6 separate regions of the Homo sapiens genome follow, and regions 1, 3, 4, 5 and 6 are each linked to region 2. Evidence: promoter capture Hi-C in human tissues and cell types (Jung and others, 2019). All regions are on one chromosome and are shown on one strand. Each heading gives the region's core, a stretch centred on a gene start or on the middle of the fragment in contact. The rest is flanking DNA. Distances are from core to core; before and after follow the strand shown.

Evidence for each region. Contacts are between HindIII fragments. The study calls those that stand out against the background at their distance.
Region 1: a contact is called between a fragment that was not itself captured here and the fragment with the promoter of ADM5 in region 2, in 1 of the 25 tissues and cell types used here (dorsolateral prefrontal cortex).
Region 3: a fragment that was not itself captured here is called in contact with the fragment with the promoter of ADM5 in region 2 in 1 of the 25 tissues and cell types used here (pancreas).
Region 4: the fragment with the promoter of BAX here is called in contact with the fragment with the promoter of ADM5 in region 2 in 1 of the 25 tissues and cell types used here (spleen).
Region 5: a contact is called between a fragment that was not itself captured here and the fragment with the promoter of ADM5 in region 2, in 1 of the 25 tissues and cell types used here (dorsolateral prefrontal cortex).
Region 6: a fragment that was not itself captured here is called in contact with the fragment with the promoter of ADM5 in region 2 in 1 of the 25 tissues and cell types used here (bladder).

Annotation. Positions count from the first base shown.
Region 1 is chr19:49,006,880-49,009,579 of GRCh38, reverse strand. It overlaps RUVBL2 (RuvB like AAA ATPase 2), which reads right to left. Exons shown (of 15, transcript NM_006666.3): 5 at 2,433-2,562; 6 at 2,212-2,278. Among named protein-coding and RNA genes, the nearest start is that of MIR6798, 1.7 kb to the left of the region's middle. RefSeq lists an enhancer at 1-140. The HindIII fragment of the contact is 7,286 bases long and covers 1-2,700 here.
Region 2 is chr19:49,688,276-49,690,975 of GRCh38, reverse strand. ADM5 (adrenomedullin 5 (putative)) reads right to left here and starts at 1,382. Exons shown (of 2, transcript NM_001101340.2): 1 at 1,065-1,382; 2 at 401-870. The coding sequence starts at 1,138. The coding sequence ends at 483. It overlaps PRMT1 (protein arginine methyltransferase 1), which reads right to left. Exons shown (of 11, transcript NM_001536.6): 11 at 2,529-2,700. It also overlaps a transcript of CPT1C not described here. RefSeq lists a silencer at 923-992 and an enhancer at 2,301-2,700. The HindIII fragment of the contact is 11,781 bases long and covers 1-2,692 here.
Region 3 is chr19:49,145,346-49,148,045 of GRCh38, reverse strand. It overlaps PPFIA3 (PPFI scaffold protein A3), which reads right to left. Exons shown (of 30, transcript NM_003660.4): 22 at 2,041-2,103; 23 at 1,854-1,880. Among named protein-coding and RNA genes, the nearest start is that of HRC, 8.7 kb to the left of the region's middle. The HindIII fragment of the contact is 3,877 bases long and covers 1-2,700 here.
Region 4 is chr19:48,953,619-48,956,318 of GRCh38, reverse strand. It overlaps BAX (BCL2 associated X, apoptosis regulator), which reads right to left and starts at 1,444. Exons shown (of 6, transcript NM_138761.4): 1 at 1,357-1,444; 2 at 720-771; 3 at 486-632; 4 at 1-121. The coding sequence starts at 1,390. RefSeq lists enhancers at 970-1,179, 629-1,196, 1,197-1,765 and a silencer at 1,300-1,449. The HindIII fragment of the contact is 13,021 bases long and covers 1-2,700 here.
Region 5 is chr19:48,987,453-48,990,152 of GRCh38, reverse strand. The region is part of intron 2 of GYS1 (glycogen synthase 1); the gene reads left to right. Among named protein-coding and RNA genes, the nearest start is that of GYS1, 4.5 kb to the left of the region's middle. RefSeq lists an enhancer at 1-388 and a silencer at 1,519-1,701. The HindIII fragment of the contact is 7,422 bases long and covers 1-2,700 here.
Region 6 is chr19:50,347,907-50,350,606 of GRCh38, reverse strand. The region is part of intron 2 of LOC105372437 (a long non-coding RNA gene); the gene reads right to left. Among named protein-coding and RNA genes, the nearest start is that of NAPSA, 16 kb to the left of the region's middle. The HindIII fragment of the contact is 3,847 bases long and covers 1-2,700 here.

The sequences.
Region 1 (2,700 bases), core at 25-2,524, 680 kb after region 2:
AACATGTATGTCCCAACGGACCATACTGGACACTTGCAATGTGTACAGCTTTCTGTATGTCAATTAAAACTCAATAAAGTTCTTTTTTTTTTTGAGACGGAGTCTTGCTCTGTCGCCCACGCTGGAGTGTAGTAGCATGATCTCGGCTCACTGCAAGCTCTGCCTCCCGGGTTCACGCCATTCTCCTGCCTCAGCCTCCCGAGTAGCTGGGACTACAGGCGCCCGCCACCACGCATGGCTAATTTTTGTATTTTTAGTAGAGATGGGGTTTCACTGTGATAGCCAGGATGGTCTCGATCTCCTGACCTTGTGATCTGCCCACCTCGGCCTCCCAAAGTGCTGGGATTACAGGAGTGAGCTACTGCGCCTGGTGAATAAAGCTCTTTTTTTTTTTTTTTTTTTTTTTTTTTTTTTTTTTTGAGATAGAGTCTTGCTCTGTCGCCCAGGCTGGAGTGCAGTGGTGTGATCTCAGCTCACTCCAACCTCCATCTCCCGGGTTCAAGTAGTTCTCCTGCCTCAGCCTCCCAAGTAGCTGGGATTACAGATGTGTGCCACCATACCCAGCTAATTGTTTTGTGTTTTTATTATTTATTTATTTTTGAGATGGAGTTTCGCTCTTGTTGCCCAGGCTGGAGTGCAATGGTGTGATCTCGGCTTACTGCAACTTCTGCCTCCCAGATTCAAGCGATTCTCCTGCCTTAGCCTCCCAAGTAGCTGGGATTACAAGCACCCACCACCACGCCCAGCTAATTTTTTGTATTTTTAGTAGAGACAGGGTTTCACCATGTTGGTCAGGCTGGTCTTGAACTCCTGACTTCAGGTGATCCACCCGCCTCGGCCTCCCAAAGTGCTGGGATTATAGGCATGAACCACCGCGCCCAGCCATTTTGTATTTTTAGTATAGACAGGGTTTCACCATGTTAGTCAGGCTCGTTTCGAACTCCTGATCTCAAGTGATCGCCCACCTCAGCCTCCCAAAGTGCTGGGATTACAGGTGTGAGCCACTGCGCCTGGCCAAAACTCAATAAAGCTCTTAATAAAAATAGTAAACAGGCAGGGTGCAGTGGCTCACACCTGTAATCCCAGCACTTTGGGAGGCCGAGGCGGGCAGATCACAAGGTCAGGAGATCGAGACCACAGTGAAACCCCGTCTCTACTAAAAATACAAAAAATTAGCCGGGCGTGGTGGCAGGTGCCTGTAGTCCCAGCTACTCGGGAGGCTGAGGCAGGAGAATGGCATGAACCCGGGAGGCAGAGCTTGCCGTGAGCTGAGATTGTGCCACTGCACTCCAGCCTGGGCAACAGAGCAAGACTCCATCTCAAAAAAAAAATTATAATAAAATAAAATAAAAATAAAAAATAAAAATAGTAAACAAACAACATGCCTAAAAAATAAAGTCTATCAAAAACAACATAGGCCCGAGGTCTCGCAAAATTGCCAAATGTCACACTTTGACATTCCTATTTTATACCCAAATAAAAAGTGTTTTTGTTGATCACAAAATCAGAAAACACAGCTATGCAAAAAGGAGAAAACAGAAATTGTAAAAAAAAAAAAAAAAAAAAAAAAAGAGGCCAGGTATGGTGGCTCACGGCTGTAATCCCAGCACTTTGGGAGGCCAAGGTGGGCAGATCACGAGGTCAGGAGTTCAAGACCAGCCTGGCCAACATGGTGAAACCCCGTCTCTACTGAAAGTACAAAAATTAGCCGGGCGTGGTGGCATGCACACACCTGTAATCTCAGCTACTCGGAAGGCTGAGGCAGAAGAATCACTTGAACCTGGGAGGCAGAGGTTGCAGTGAGCCGAGATTGCACCACTGCATTCCAGTCTGGGGGACAGAGGGAGACTCTGTCTCGAAAACAAAAAAAAAAGAGAGAGCAAATCACCTGTATCATGTAAGATGGACAGGACATGCCTTTCGGCCACGGAACGAGTTTTGAAGTCTGTTGGGTTTTGAGGTCTGTTGGGAACTCACTAACAGATCTCTCTCATTATTTTACCGCCTCAGTTTCTATTGCCCATAATGTCCTTCATAAGGGGATAAGCCATTGTCAAGTTAACTGACCTCCTACTGTAGGCATGTACATGGCTCTAGTCTGCAGCTAGAACATTCCATGGGATTCTGACCTCAGTGCAGACCTGATATCTACTCTCTCCAACCCTGGCGCTGGAGGTGGCCTCAGCAGGGTACAGACTCACACAGACTCACCGTCCCTGTTGCTGGTCGATCAATCTGGATCTCCACCACCTCCCCTTCGATGATCTCCGTCTCCTCCCTAGCCAGAGAGCAGATCTGAGGAGACAGCCTGACACCTGGACCCTCGGGAATCACAACCTTCCATGAGCTCTGGGACAAAGGACGAGCCGCCCGGGGTGCGGGGTTGCTCCCAGGCTCTGGGGTCTGGCACCCGCCTCGGGTCCCCCGCTTACTTGATGCGAACGCCGATGGACCGCCGGAAGGCCTGCGTCAGCGCCTCGGTCTTGCTCATCTCCAGGGAGAAGATTTCACTGCCGGCGATGGCTGTGAATGGCGTGTCAGGGCCCAGGGCCTGCGCCATGCCTGGGAAGGAGGCAGTCTGTGTAGGTGAAGCCGCTCTGGCACCAGGTCCCCGACACCTGCTCTGTGGCAAACTAGCTTTTCTCCCACCCCAGGAAAGAGGGTTCAGTGCCATCCTACATGTAAGGACTTGGCTCCGAG
Region 2 (2,700 bases), core at 133-2,632:
GGCCGCTCGCATTCTACGCAGCTGTTCGGAACCCGGGTTCCTGGGCTCCTCACTCAGCTCATTGTCTCTTAGTCTCCTGTCTCTTCGAGGAACAAGGCTCAGCTGGGAGGTCGCAGCCCACCCCAGGTGCATTATAACGTCAGGCGCGTAGGGTGCCGGAGCAAATCTCAGCCCTTTCACGCCAGGGAGGGAGGAGGGATGTTTGGGGGTCAGGACGGCCCGCCAAAACCACCCACGGAAGGTGCATGGATTGAGTTGGCAAGAAAGGCGCCACAGCGGGTTGGATTCAAGGTAGACAGTGGGACTTCCGTGAGGGAGAAGCAGCATGGCTAATAGAGAAAGGTATATTAGAGACCCAGCCTCGACTGAGAGGTCGAAATAGGTACAGAGAAGCAGAGACTGAAACACGGAACTCTTGTTTATTCGGCTCTGGGCGTCAGTGTTCTTCGCCCAGCCTGGTCCCGTGTGCTTCTAGGTCCAACCTAGTCGCAGCCCGGGGAGGGACTGGGGAAGACGGTTTCAGGGGCTGGAGTTAGGGGAGAAGAAATGTGGAGTAGAAGCTCCAACATACAGATAGGCAAACTGAAGCCGAGGAGGGGACGAGCCGTGCCCGAGGTCACCCAGCGAGCTGGGCACTGCGCTAGCCCCCTCGCTGCAGGCCGGAATCCTGGGAACCGAGCCGGGCTTCCGCCTCGCGCCACCGGCGGCGCCCATAGCTGTAGGGGTCCTGGGGCTCGTGGCTGGCCTTCCCCGAGGGCTCCTTGGTGGAGACAGCGAATCCAGTATATGATCTCCGCCAGGCGGTGGGTCCGGCATACGCCCAGGTAGCAGACGTGCCCGCGGTGCTGGGGGACCTGGTGCTGGCCTCGCCTGGAGAGGGAGCGTGGGAGAAAACCGGGTTCAAACCGAATTGAGAGATGGAGCGTGATGGAGGTGGGCACCCAAGCACTCCAAGACCAGCGGGGAGGCTTACAGATCACCTGCCCGTTCCGCGGCCGGGAGAGGGCGCTCGCCCTTTACGGTCTCCCTCCCGCCCTGTCCCTGCTGCCACCCGGGTTTCTCACCTGGCTGCAGTGTCCAGGTCCCCTTGGGCGGAGAAGGCGAGGAGCAACAGCAGGATGAGGATGTGGATAGTCATCGTGGGCAGGGCGGGTCAGGATCCGTGGCCCGTAGTTGCGGCCACCCCGCCCCGTTCCCGCACCGGGCTGATCGCCTCTGGGTGCAGCTCTGGAGCCAGGTACCAGGGCCAGTCCCCACTTCCCAGGCGGGGAACACTGAGGCCAAAAGTCTGTGGGAAGAGGCCGCACCACACCAGAGGGGCAGGATTCAAACCCGGGTCCCCGCTTCCCGCACCGCGGCTCCAGAGACCTCACTGGGTGTGTGGGGTCACACCAGCTGCTGTCTATCCCCCTAGGAGGTCTGTGGAGACTCGCCCCCTTCAAAGCGTGGGGAAATGGGGCGGGGCCAATGACACCCGCAGGTAGCTAAGCAGCGGGATTCCAAGAAAAGGGGTGGCGGCGGGGAAGCGCTGGCTCTGGTTGTAGATGCGACCTCACCCTCACCCTGTCGGGAAGCCGGTTAGTAGACAGTTGGGACCCTGGAACCTCGGGGGCCAGGCAATGCAGGGCAAGTGCACATGCGGCCCCCTGGAGGGCGTGGAGCGAGGGAGACCCCAAACACACTGAGGAGCGCCCCTCCGGAAGAGAAAAGGCCGAGGTGTCAGGCACTCGCCGGTGAGGGCTCCAGTTGCACTGAAGCAGGTGTAGCCAGGGCTGTTCAACGAGGAGGGTGTCCTGGGTCAACCAGGTCGAGTGCACAGTATTGTGGGGGACCCAGGACCCCGTGGCCAGGCCCTGAGGGTGGAAGGGTGGGTGCAGACGCCATGTCTGCAGCAGAGGCAGAGGGACCTCGTCTTCACCTCTGTAAGATGGGTAGGCCCTGCCACCTTACAGCTGCAACTCCCACTGACCTCCATGGAGGGCAAGTCCCCAGCCCTAAGCCCCAAGCCATTCTAGGGGAGGAAGCAGGGCCACTCCCCCATGAGAAATTCTATCCTTGCAAACATACACCCCCAACCCACTCAGTGTCCCCAGCTGCAGAGGGCTGGGCACAGTTGGGCCTTGAAGGGACCCGAACAGGAAAAAACAGCCAGAGAGGAACAATGTCGAGTGTTGGGGGGAGGTGGGGAGACTGTTCTGGGAAACTTGAGGGCTGGCTGTGCTGGAAAGCCACCCCCATCCCCTACTAGGCAGGACACGGGTACCGCAGAGGGGAGGGGCGCAGACCCAGGAGAGGGATGAAAAGAGTTGGACAAAGACCCTGAGAGACAGCTGTGGAGGACAGGGACCCCGAGAAGGAACCAAGGAAGGGGAGCAAGAGGCCTAGAGACGGGGGACGGGAGACGCAGATCCACAGAATGGCAGCCACCAGCAGGTGCCAAGGCCGGTCCCCCCACTGCTGAGGCTGGCACTGCAGTACCTGCGAAAGGAACCCCAAACCTCCTTTGCCCCCAGGAAACAAAGCCAGACCCCAGCTGAGGATTTATTGGCGTAAATGCAACCATATAAAAACATAAGTTATGAAAAACACAGTCACGATGTGCCCTCCCCATCCCCCCAGCCCAGGCCCCTAAAACCCCCTTCTGCGGGAGGGAGGGAGAGGAAGGGGGAGCCCCGAAACCGCCTAGGAACGCTCAGCCCC
Region 3 (2,700 bases), core at 61-2,560, 540 kb after region 2:
CTGGCCCCTTCCCACTGTGCATGAGAGGGGTACAGTCCAACCTCCCAATCCAAGGTTTTTTCCCACCCCATGGTAGGACAATGACCAATCTCTGCTCAGGATAATGGACCAATCCAGAGTTGTCTCCTAGCCCTTCATGACAGCATATACTCTTGGCTACTCAAACAGTTGTCCTGAGACCTAGAGCGTCACCATCACCTGTGGACTTGCTGGAATTGCAGAATCTCAGACCTTACTCCAGACCTACTGAAGTCGGTATCGGCATTTTCACAAGACCCTCAGGTGATTCGAAATATACATTATATTTATTTTTAAATTTCTTTCTTTCTCTCTTTCTCTCTCTCTCTCTCTCTCTCTCTTTCTGAAAGAGTCTGCTATGTCACCCAGGCTGGAGCGCGGTGGCACGATCTCGTCTCACTGCAACCTCCCCATCCCAGGTTCAAGCAATTCTCTTGCCTCAGCCTTCGAGTAGCTGGGATTACAGGTACGAGCCACCACGCCCGGCTAATTTTTGTATTTTTTAGTAGAGACGGCGTTTCACCATGTTGGCCAGGCTGGTCTCAAACTCCTGACCTCAAGGGATCCGCCCACCTCAGCCTCCCAACGTGCTGGGATTACAGGCATGAGCCACCGCGCCTGGCTGTATTTGTTTATTTTTTAGAGACAGGGTCTTACTATGTTGCCCAGGTTGACCTCAGCTTCGTGGGCTCAAGCGGTCCTCCTGCCTCAGTCTTCCAAGTAGCTGAGACTACAGGTGTGTGCCACCCCACTACACATTAAATTTGGGGAAGCACTGCTTTAACTCTGTCTCACTGCAGTCCAACGTCACTAAACCCCCAAGTCAGGACAATGGACTCTTTCAAGGCAGCTCTCCCACTAAGAAAGGGCCATCACTCTTGCAATGTCCTGAAAATACTTGTCTAATGTTATATCTGGCCCAGGACAATATTCCAGATGAGTCCCAAGTCCCTCACTCCTTTCAGCATCAGCACAAAATCCACGCCTCCCCCTGGCTGGAAATATGTGATCTATGACCACAGTCAAACATAATTCCTCCGTGGACAGTGAGTTCATGCCTCTTGGGTTTTTTTGTTAGTTTATTTGTTTGGTTTTTATGAGATGGAATCTGGCTCTATCACCCAGGCTGGAGTACAATGGTGCAATCTCGGCTCAGTGCAACCTCTACCTCCTGGGTTCAAGCGATTCTCCTGCCTCAGCCTCCCAAGTAGCTGGGATTACATACGCTAGCCACTGCACCCGGCTAATTTTTGTATTTTTAGTAGACACAGGGTTTCACCATGTTGGCCAGACTGGTCTCAAACTCCTGACCTCAGGTGATCTGCCCACCTCAGCCTCCTAAAGTGCTGGAATTACAGGCGTGAGCCACTGCGCCCGGCCGCCTCTTGTTTCTTGAGAACAAAGTGTAGCTCCTCCTCCCCAACTTCTCATTCAGCCTGGCTGCCTCACCACCACCACAGCCAGTGTGTCCTCCTTGGCCCTGGTACACTGAGCAGTCCACTGTAGCCCCCGCCCCCTCCACTATAGGGACACCGGCTGCTCAGTCTCTCCTGAGCTACAGAATTGAAGCCCCTTAGAGCCCCCACAACCCACGATGATGAAATGGTCCATGCATAAGGCTGACTATGCAACAGTCTGGGCTTCCACATCGCATCCCCTCTACCCTCCCCACCGCCAAGCCATAATGGAACAGTCCAGAGCCAAGCTTGGCGCAGCGCCCCCCCATGGGGATGATGGCATGTTCTGGTGAAGGCAGGGGCAGGGCTCGGAGGAGGGGCATCCATGCGTCGTGCACAGCCTGTTCATGCGCTCACGCCCCGCCCCGCGCCCCCTACCTGCTCCCAGCTGATCTCCTTGGTCTCCTGACCCGTTAGTAGGAAGAGGGGAGAGAAGGGGTGAGTTAAGGGGCAGGCAGAGGAGGACGCAAGGAGCGGACTTAGGGATGGCCACAGACTCGGTCCCCGCCCCCACCCCCAAAGAAGGTTAGTGCCACCCCCAAGGCGGCCGGCAGGGGGCACTCACGGGCTTGGTCGTGGCCGTAAGGGACTCCATCTCCTCGTGTGTCATCCACACGTTTCCTGTGGACTGAGGGGCAGGGAGTGTTAATGGATGGTGGGAGAGGGCTTCGCGTGGGGGAGAGGAAGGAGGGTGTCCTCCTGAAGGCCCTGGGCCACACGTTTATGTCCCTCCTGCTTTCTGGGGCAAGCAGTAACAGAGAAAAGGAATGATTCTTATTATAGGGCACCTGCCATGTACCAGGCAATGTGACTTTGGAGTTGAACAAATTCAGGTTGGAATTGGGACCCTGCCATGCATTTTGCTGTGTGGCCCTGTGCAAATGACGTCACCTCGCTGACCTCACACAGAGGTACAGAATGAGGATTCAGAAGTGGGGGACAGACACAGCCATGGTGCAAATGTTTAGGGAGTATGGCGGGGGGGGTTCACATTTATTGAGCTTCTGCTCCCAACAACCTCACGAGTTAGGAATCCATACAAGGATAAAAACATTTATGTACTTCTGGTGAGTGTCAGGCACCAGTCACCGTCATAGGGTGTGGGATATGGCAAGGGACACGACAGACACTTTTCGTCCTAGTGGGGGAGAAACAATGAACATATTTTAAGTATGTTGGGGAAATTTGAATACAGAGTGAATAGTAAATGAAATTAACAACTGTG
Region 4 (2,700 bases), core at 195-2,694, 730 kb after region 2:
GCTGGCAAAGTAGAAAAGGGCGACAACCCGGCCCCAGTTGAAGTTGCCGTCAGAAAACATGTCAGCTGCCACTCGGAAAAAGACCTCTCGGGGGGAGTCTGTGTCCACGGCGGCAATCATCCTGCAGGAGAGAGGAGAACCAGTGCCGGGGAGCAGGCATCAGGCTGATGGTGGAAAATTCCCGCATCCACCGCACACTAAAGATAAGGAGACTGAGCCCCAAGCCAGGCTGAAATGAAAAGCAACAGGCCAACGGGGGACAAGGGAAGGGGACAAGACAGACATTTAGGAAGGTGGGAAAAATGACTCCCTGAAGGAGGGTTTTAAGATCCTGGCAGAGAGGAGGGCTGGGAGTCCGGAATGTTTGCGCTGAGTTGTGGGGCCCAGACTCCTAGTTCTTAGGGGAGGAGGAGAATGCGGGGCTGAGAGTCCTGTGTCCTGAAGGAGCCCAGTGGCTGGACTTCTGGGTCCTCAGGGGCCCACACCTCTGCAGCTCCATGTTACTGTCCAGTTCGTCCCCGATGCGCTTGAGACACTCGCTCAGCTTCTTGGTGGACGCATCCTGAGGCACCGGGTCCAGGGCCAGCTCGGGTGCCTCCCCCCCCATTCGCCCTGCTCGATCCTGGATGAAACTAGAGTGGGGATGGAGTGAGGGTGCAGAATCAGAACGGGGTGTCACTCCTCAAATCTGTGCCACAATAATCAGACCTCAAACTCACCCCTGAAGCAAAAGGGCCCCTGTCTTCATGATCTGCTCAGAGCTGGTGGGCCCTAGAGGAGAAAGGAAGGGAAGAGGTACCTGGACTCTTGGGTTCTAGGGGATCAGGAGACTGTGGAGACTCACGGCCCCTGAGGGAGGACAGAGCTGGGGACCCTGGACTTCTGGGACCCTAGCAGATAAAGTGACGGGGGGGCCCAGACAACTGAGTCCCTGATGGAGAAAGGCCAGGAGGCTGGGCCTGTATCCTACATTCTCCCCGGGGAAAGAGGCTAGGGGAACGCTATATGCATCCAGACCCCTGGCCTGAGGGGGCAGAGGCGAGACCCGCCCCTCCCACCAGTGCCAGAGGCAGGAAGTGGTGCGGGCGACAAGCCCGGGCCTGCCCGGGGGCTTGGCTTCCGAGATCCCCTGGTTCTCGAGGGTCCGAGAGCGCCAGAGAGGCAGGGATCGGGACACGGGGATCAGAGAGCCAGGAACCTCCGAGGACGGAGGGGACTGGAGGCTGGCAGCGCCCGATCCGGGAGTTTCTGCCCCTCAGTGCTTGGAGATCGCACAGCCCCAGGCCGGTAGGAAGGATCCCGGACGGGCCGGCGAGGGGGCTCGCCCTCCTCCCGCCCGTCTGCCTCCCGCCTCACCCCCGCCTCTGGGCTGCTCCCCGGACCCGTCCATCACCGCCGCTCCCGCCGCCGCCTCTCGCCGGGTCCGCGCGGGCGGCCGCAGCGCGCCCGGGTCACGTGAGAGCCCCGCTGAACGTGCGTCCTTCACGTGGCCGCCCCGCAAAATGGCCGCTGCCCCGCAGCGCCGCCGGGTCACGTGACCGCACCTGCCTCGCTCCCTCGGGAGGTTTGGTCCCGTCACGTGACTGTCCAATGAGCATCTCCCGATAAGTGCCAGCAGTGGCGCCGTCCAACAGCCGTCCGTCCAATCGCAGCTCTAATGCCTTCATTTATCCAGGCACCATTTTTAGAAGTTTCGGGCAGGGTTTGAGCTCTCCCCAGCGCAGAAGGAATTAGCAAGTGCAAAAGCTCAGAGGCCCAAAATAGCATGCTTCCAGGCAGGACGTTATAGATGACTAAAAACTGAGTGGTTTTGTTTTTTGCAGAGACCTGGATCTAGCAATATAGCCCACGCCCAGGCTTGTCTCTAACTTGTGAGCCCAAGAGATAACCCCGTCTCAGCCTTCCAAAGCGCTGGGATTACAGGCATGAGCTACCGCGCCAGGCCTGCTTTTCTGTTTGTTTGTTTTTTCCTGTTTTTTTTTTTTTTTTTTTTGAGACAGGGTCTCACTGTGTTGCCCAGGCTGGAGTGCAGTGGCCCAATCATGGCTCACTGCAGTCTGGAATTCCCGGGCTGAAGCCTCCCACCTCAGCCTCCTGAGTAGCTGGGACTACACCGCCCCTGGTTAATTTTTAAAACTTTTTATGTGGAGATGAGGTCTCTCTATGTTGCCCAGGCTGGTCTCTGAACTCCCAGACTCAAGCGATCCTCGCACCTTGGCCTCCCAAAGTGCTGAGATTACAGGCTTGAGCCACCCCACCCAGTCATGACTCGAATGTTTGTGTTTGTGTAAAAAGAAAAGGAATATGAAGTTTAAAAAGTGGCAGAAACTAATCTGTGCTGATAGATCAGCAGGGTATGGAGGGGAGGGGCCACAAGAGACACTCCCCGGGTGCCCCAAATATGCCATATTTTTATCTGAATGGTGTTTACATGGGTATACACATTATTATTATTATTATTATTATTATTATTATTATTATTTTGAGACGGAGTTTTGCTCTTGTTGCCCAGGATGGAGTGCAATGGCACGATCTCGGCTTACTGCAACCTCTGCCTCCGGGTTCAAGCAATTCTCCTGCCTCAGCCTCCCAAGTAGCTGGAATTGCAGGCATGCGACACCACGCCCAGCTAATTTTGTATTTTTAGTAAAGATGGGGTTTCACTATGTTGGTCAGGCTGGTCTCAAGCTCCTGACCTCA
Region 5 (2,700 bases), core at 182-2,681, 700 kb after region 2:
CCTTTACTCATTCACAGCCTCTGGTTTGGGGTGGGGTCTGGAATCCATTCAGGTCCGACTGTGTCCCTAAGGGAACCCAGAACAGCCCAGTCGCTTCCTGAGGGCAGCTGCTTCCCACGTGCTGGGGGCCTAAGAATAGCCCCCCCCCCCCCCCAGCAAAAGGGCAGACAACAGCTGGGAGGGGGAGGGACCTCAGAGCGAGGCTCCAGGCAGCAAAAAGCCAGGTCGGCGAGGAGCGGGGCTGCTTCTCCACTGCTGTGGCAGCAGGCCCAGAACCAAAGCCATGGTCTCAGGGAGGAAAACAGCCAACTGGAGAAATGTGGCAGAGGCAGAAGTGAGACAGCAAGTCTTAGAAACACGGCAGTGGCTAGAAAAATGCAGCCCTGGGGCACGGACAGAGGATGGGCTATGTTAGAAATGTGTGGCGTGGCCGAGGGCGGTGGCTCATGCCTGGAATCCCAGCACTTTGGGAGGCCGAGGTGAGAGGATAGCTTGAGCCCAGGAGTTCCTGACCCACCTGGGCAACATGGCGAAACTCTGTCTCTACTAAAAATACAAAAAATTAGCCAGGCATGATGGTGCGTGCTCGTGATCCCAGTTACTCAGGAGGCTGAGGTGGGAGGATGGGATGTGGAGGCTGTAGTGAGCCATAATTTTTTTTTTTTTTTTTTCAGATAGAATCTCACTCTGTCGCTGAGTCTGGAGTGCAGTGGTACAATCTCGACTCACTGCAACCTCCGCCTCCCGCGTTCAAGCAATTCTCCTGCCTCGGCCTCCCAAGTAGCTGGGACCTCAGGCACATGCTGCCACGCCCGGCTAATTTTTTGTATTTTAGTAGAGACAGGGTTTCACCATGTTGCCCAGGCTGGTCTCAAACTCCTGAGCTCAGGCAATCCGCCCGCCTCGGCCCCCCAAAGAGCTAGGATTACAGGCGTGAGCCACCGCGCCCAGCCCAGTGAGCCATGATTGCACCACTGCACTCCAGCCTGGGTGACCGGAGTGAGACCCTGTCAAAAACAAAAACAAACAAAAAAAAATGGAAGAAAGAAAGAAAAAGGAGAGAGGGAGGGAAGGAGGGAGAGAGGGAAGGAAGGAAGGAAGGAAGCAAGGAAGGAAGGAAGGAGGCTGTGGACTACAAAATGGGCCTATGGATAGAGGAAAGAGGTCGCAGGTGACAGATATGTGATGAAAGGAACAGAAACAAGGCATCATGGGGAAGAAAAGTGGCAGCATGAACAGTAAGAGAATCATTACAGGCTGGGTGCAGTAGCTCACGCCTGTAATCCCAGCACTTTGGTAGGCTGAGGCCAGGAGTTTGAGACCAGCCTGGGCAACATGGTGAAACCCTGTCCTTACAAAAAAGTTAAAAATTAGCCGGGATGTGATACCTTGTGCCTGTGGTCCCAGCTACGTGGGAAGCTGCGGTGGAAGGATTGCTTGAGCCTGGGAGATCGAAGCTTCAGTGAACCGTAATTGCACCACTCCCTTCCAGGCTGGAGGACAGAGCAAGACCCCGTCTCTGAAAATAAAAAAGGGCCTGCTTTAGGTGGCTCACACTTCTAATCTCAACACTTTGGGAGGCTAAGCAAGAAAACTGCTTGAACGCAGGAGTTCACGATCAGCCTGGGCAACATAGTGAGACCCCATCTCCACAAAAAATTAAAAAATCAGCCTGGCATGGTGGCCCACGCCTGTAGGAGGTGAGGTGGGAGGATTGACTGAGCCAGGGAGGTTGAGGCTATAGTGAACCATGTTCACACCACTGCACTCCAGCCTGGGCAACAGAGCGAGACCCTGTCTGAAAACAAAAAAGAAGCATCCCGTGGAAGGAATTAGCATCAGAAAGAAAAGACAGTGGGAGATGCAGATGGTTGGTAAGAGAAATGTGGCAGCAAGTACAGAAACAAGGCAGCAGGTAGGGGAAATGATTTGCAGAGTGGCCAGACAGGGCAGTGGGGGCATAGACACAGGACATGTGACATATGTGGTTATAAGCAGAGAAAGGAGGCAGCGAGTGGGAGAAGGGTAGCAGTTACAGGAATTAAACAGGAGGCTGGGTGCGGTGGCTCACGCCTGTAATCCCAGCACTTTGGGACGCCGAGGCGGGCGGATCACAAGGTCGGGAAATGGAGATCATCCTGGCTAACACAGTGAAACCTCGTCTCTACTGAAAATACAAAAAAAAGTAGCCGGGCGTGGTGGCGGGCCGCTGTAGTCCCAGCTACTCGGGAGGCTGAGGCAGGAGAATGGTGTGAACCCAGGAGGCAGAGGTTGCAGTGAGCCGAGATCATGCCACGGCACTCCAGCCTGGGCAACAGAGCCAGACTCCGTCTCAAGAAAAAAAAAAAATTAGCCAGGTGTGGGAGCGGGTGCCTGTAATCCCAGCTACTTGGGAGGCTGAGGCAGGAGAATTGCTTGAACCCGGGAGACAGAGGTTGCAGTGAGCTGAGATCGCACCACTGCACTCCAGCCTGGGCCACAGAGTGAGACTCCATCTCAAAAAAAAGAAAGAAAGAAAGTAAGCAGGGGGCACGGAAAATATTGCAACAGAGATGGAAAAAATGTGTAGCAGGAATAAATCATGCAAATAGAGAAGTAAGGCTAAGGCAGCAGGTGAGAAATTAGCAGCAGATATGGAAACAGAAGATAAGAGAGCTGAGGCTTAAGTCTATAGACATCTGCCTGCAAATGGGAGAACCA
Region 6 (2,700 bases), core at 80-2,579, 660 kb before region 2:
GTGTGGTGGCTCACGCCTGTAATCCCAACACTCTGGGAGGCTGAGGTGAATGGATCACTTGAGGCCCAGAGTTTGAGACCAGCCTGGCCAACATGATGAAACCTAGTCTCTGCTAAAATCACAAAGATTAGCCAGGCGTGGTGGCACACAGCTGTAATCCCAGCTGCTTGGGAGGCTGAGGCATGAGAATCGCTTGAACCTGAGAGGCAGAGGTTGCCGTGAGCTGAGATCATGACACTGCACTCCAGCCTGGGTGACAGAGTGAGACTCTGTCTCAAAAAAACAAAACAAACAAAAACCACAGCATTAATAGGCTTGGGAGGCCCCCTGATACAGATATGGCTTAGATCACAATCCTCAAGTCCTTTTGAATACCTGGAAAGCCTTCCCAAGAAGGACAGGTACAAACAAGTCTACATGCTGCCTGCCGACCTCAGAGTTCTGGGAAGGTGGAGCGAATGAGTCGGACTATCAAAAATAGTTTAAGGAAAGTATGTCAAGAGACAAGATTAAAATGGATACAGGCCCTTCCTATGGTATTGTTTAAAACAGGTGCACCCCCTCTAAGAAAACAGGACACTCCCCTTATGAAATATTATATCATAGGCCTCCTCCTATGCCGCGAGGGCTTCTGGGTACTCCCCAAGAGTTGGGTGAAATTGAATTGCAGCGACAGCTACAGGCCTTGGGGAAAATTACCGAGACAATCTCAACTTGGGTAAATGAGGTGCCCGGTCAGCTTATTCTCCCCAGTTCACCCTTTTTCTCCAGGTGACCGCGTGTGGATCAAGGACTGGAACGTAGCTCCCTTAGGGCCATAGTGGAAGGGACCCCAGACCGTTATCCTGACCACTCCCACGGCTGTGAAGGTAGAAGGAATTCCGGCCGGGATTCACCACAGCTGCGGAAAGCCTGCAGCCACTGGAACCTGGGAGGCCAAACCAGGCCTAGACAATCCCTGCAAAGTAACCCTGAGGAGGACGACAAGCCCTGCTCCAGTCACACCCGGAAGCTGACTGGCCTATTCGCGGCCGAAGCATGAGGAAAATCGTCGTGGGACTTACTTTCCTTATAACACGGACTTGTGTGGTAAAAGCTTCCACTGCTTCTTCCCACACAGAGGACTGCTTTCAGTGCATACCTCAGGTCACTGAGGTAGGACAACAAGTTAAGACAATCTTTTTGTTCTATAGTTATTATGAAGGCCTAGGAATTCCAAAAGGAACATGTTTGTATAATAACACTCAGTACAAAGTCTGTGATCCAGGAAGTGACCAGCCCGATGTGTGCTATGACCCCTCTGAACCTCCCATTTCCACAGTTTTTGAAATAAGATTAAGGACTGAACACTGGCAGGGACTCATAAATGATACAAGTAAAGTATTAGCCAGAACAGAAGAAAAAGGGGTGCCCAAATGCATAATCTTAAGATTTGACGCTGTGCTGTCATTAATAGCAATAAGTTAGGAGCAGGATGTGGCTCTTTTAATTAGGAAAAAACTACATGACCGAAAATAAGTACATCTGTCATGAATCAGGATTGTGTGGAAAAGAATGTGGGTACTGGTCTTGTGTCATTTAGGCTACTTGGGAAAAAAAAAATGAAAAAGATCCTGTTTTGCTCCAAAAAGGGAAAGGAAGCCTGTCCTGCATGAGTGGAAGCTGCAACCCTTTAAAATTAGTAATCACAAGCCCCTCAGACCCAAAATAGAAAAAAGGAAAATACTTATCTCTAGGCATTGATGGAAAAAGACTAGACCCTAGGGTAAACATTTTAATAAAAGGAGAGGTTCGAACATGCTCTCCAGAGCCAGTATTTCACACTTTCTATGATGAACAAAATGTGCCAGTGCCTGAAATTCCAGGAAAAACTAGACATTTGTTTTTGCAGTTAGCCGAGCATGTAGCCCAGTCTCTAAAAGTCACTTCGTGTTTTGTTTGTGGAGCAACTGTAACAGGAGATCAGTGGCCATGGGAAGCCCGAGAATGAGTTCCTACAGACCCAGTTCCTGATGAATTCTCGGCCCAAAAGAACCACCCTGACAATTTCTGGGTTCTAAAAGCCTCAATTATTGGACAATGTTGCATAGCTAGAGAAGGAAAAGAATTCACTCATCCTGTAGGACAGGTTAGTTGTCTTGGACAAAAACTGTATAATGGTACCACAAAAACAGTTACATGGTGGAGTTCCAATTACACGGAAAAAAATCCATTCCGTAAATTTCCAAAATTGCAGACTGTTTAGGCCCACCCAGAATTCCACTGGGACTGGACTGCCCCTACTGGGTTATACTGGATATGTGGACATAGAGCTTATGCTAAGCTATCTGATCAGTAGACAGGTAGCTGTGTAATTGGCACTATTAAACCATCTTTCTTCCTGCTGCCCATAAAAACAACAAACTCTTAGGATTCCCTGTCTATGCTTCCCGTGAAAAACGAAGCATAGCCATAGGTAACTGGAAAGATGATGATGGCCCCCTGAAAGAATTATACAATACTATGGGCCCGCCACTTGGGCATAAGATGGCTCATAGGGATATTGGACCCCCATCTACATGCTCAACTGAATCATACAGTTGCAAGCTGTTTTAGAAATTATTACTAATTAAACTGGTCAAGCCTTGACTGTTCTTGCCCGGCAAGAGACTCAGATGAGGAATGCTATCTACCAAAATAGACTAGCTCTCGACTACTTGC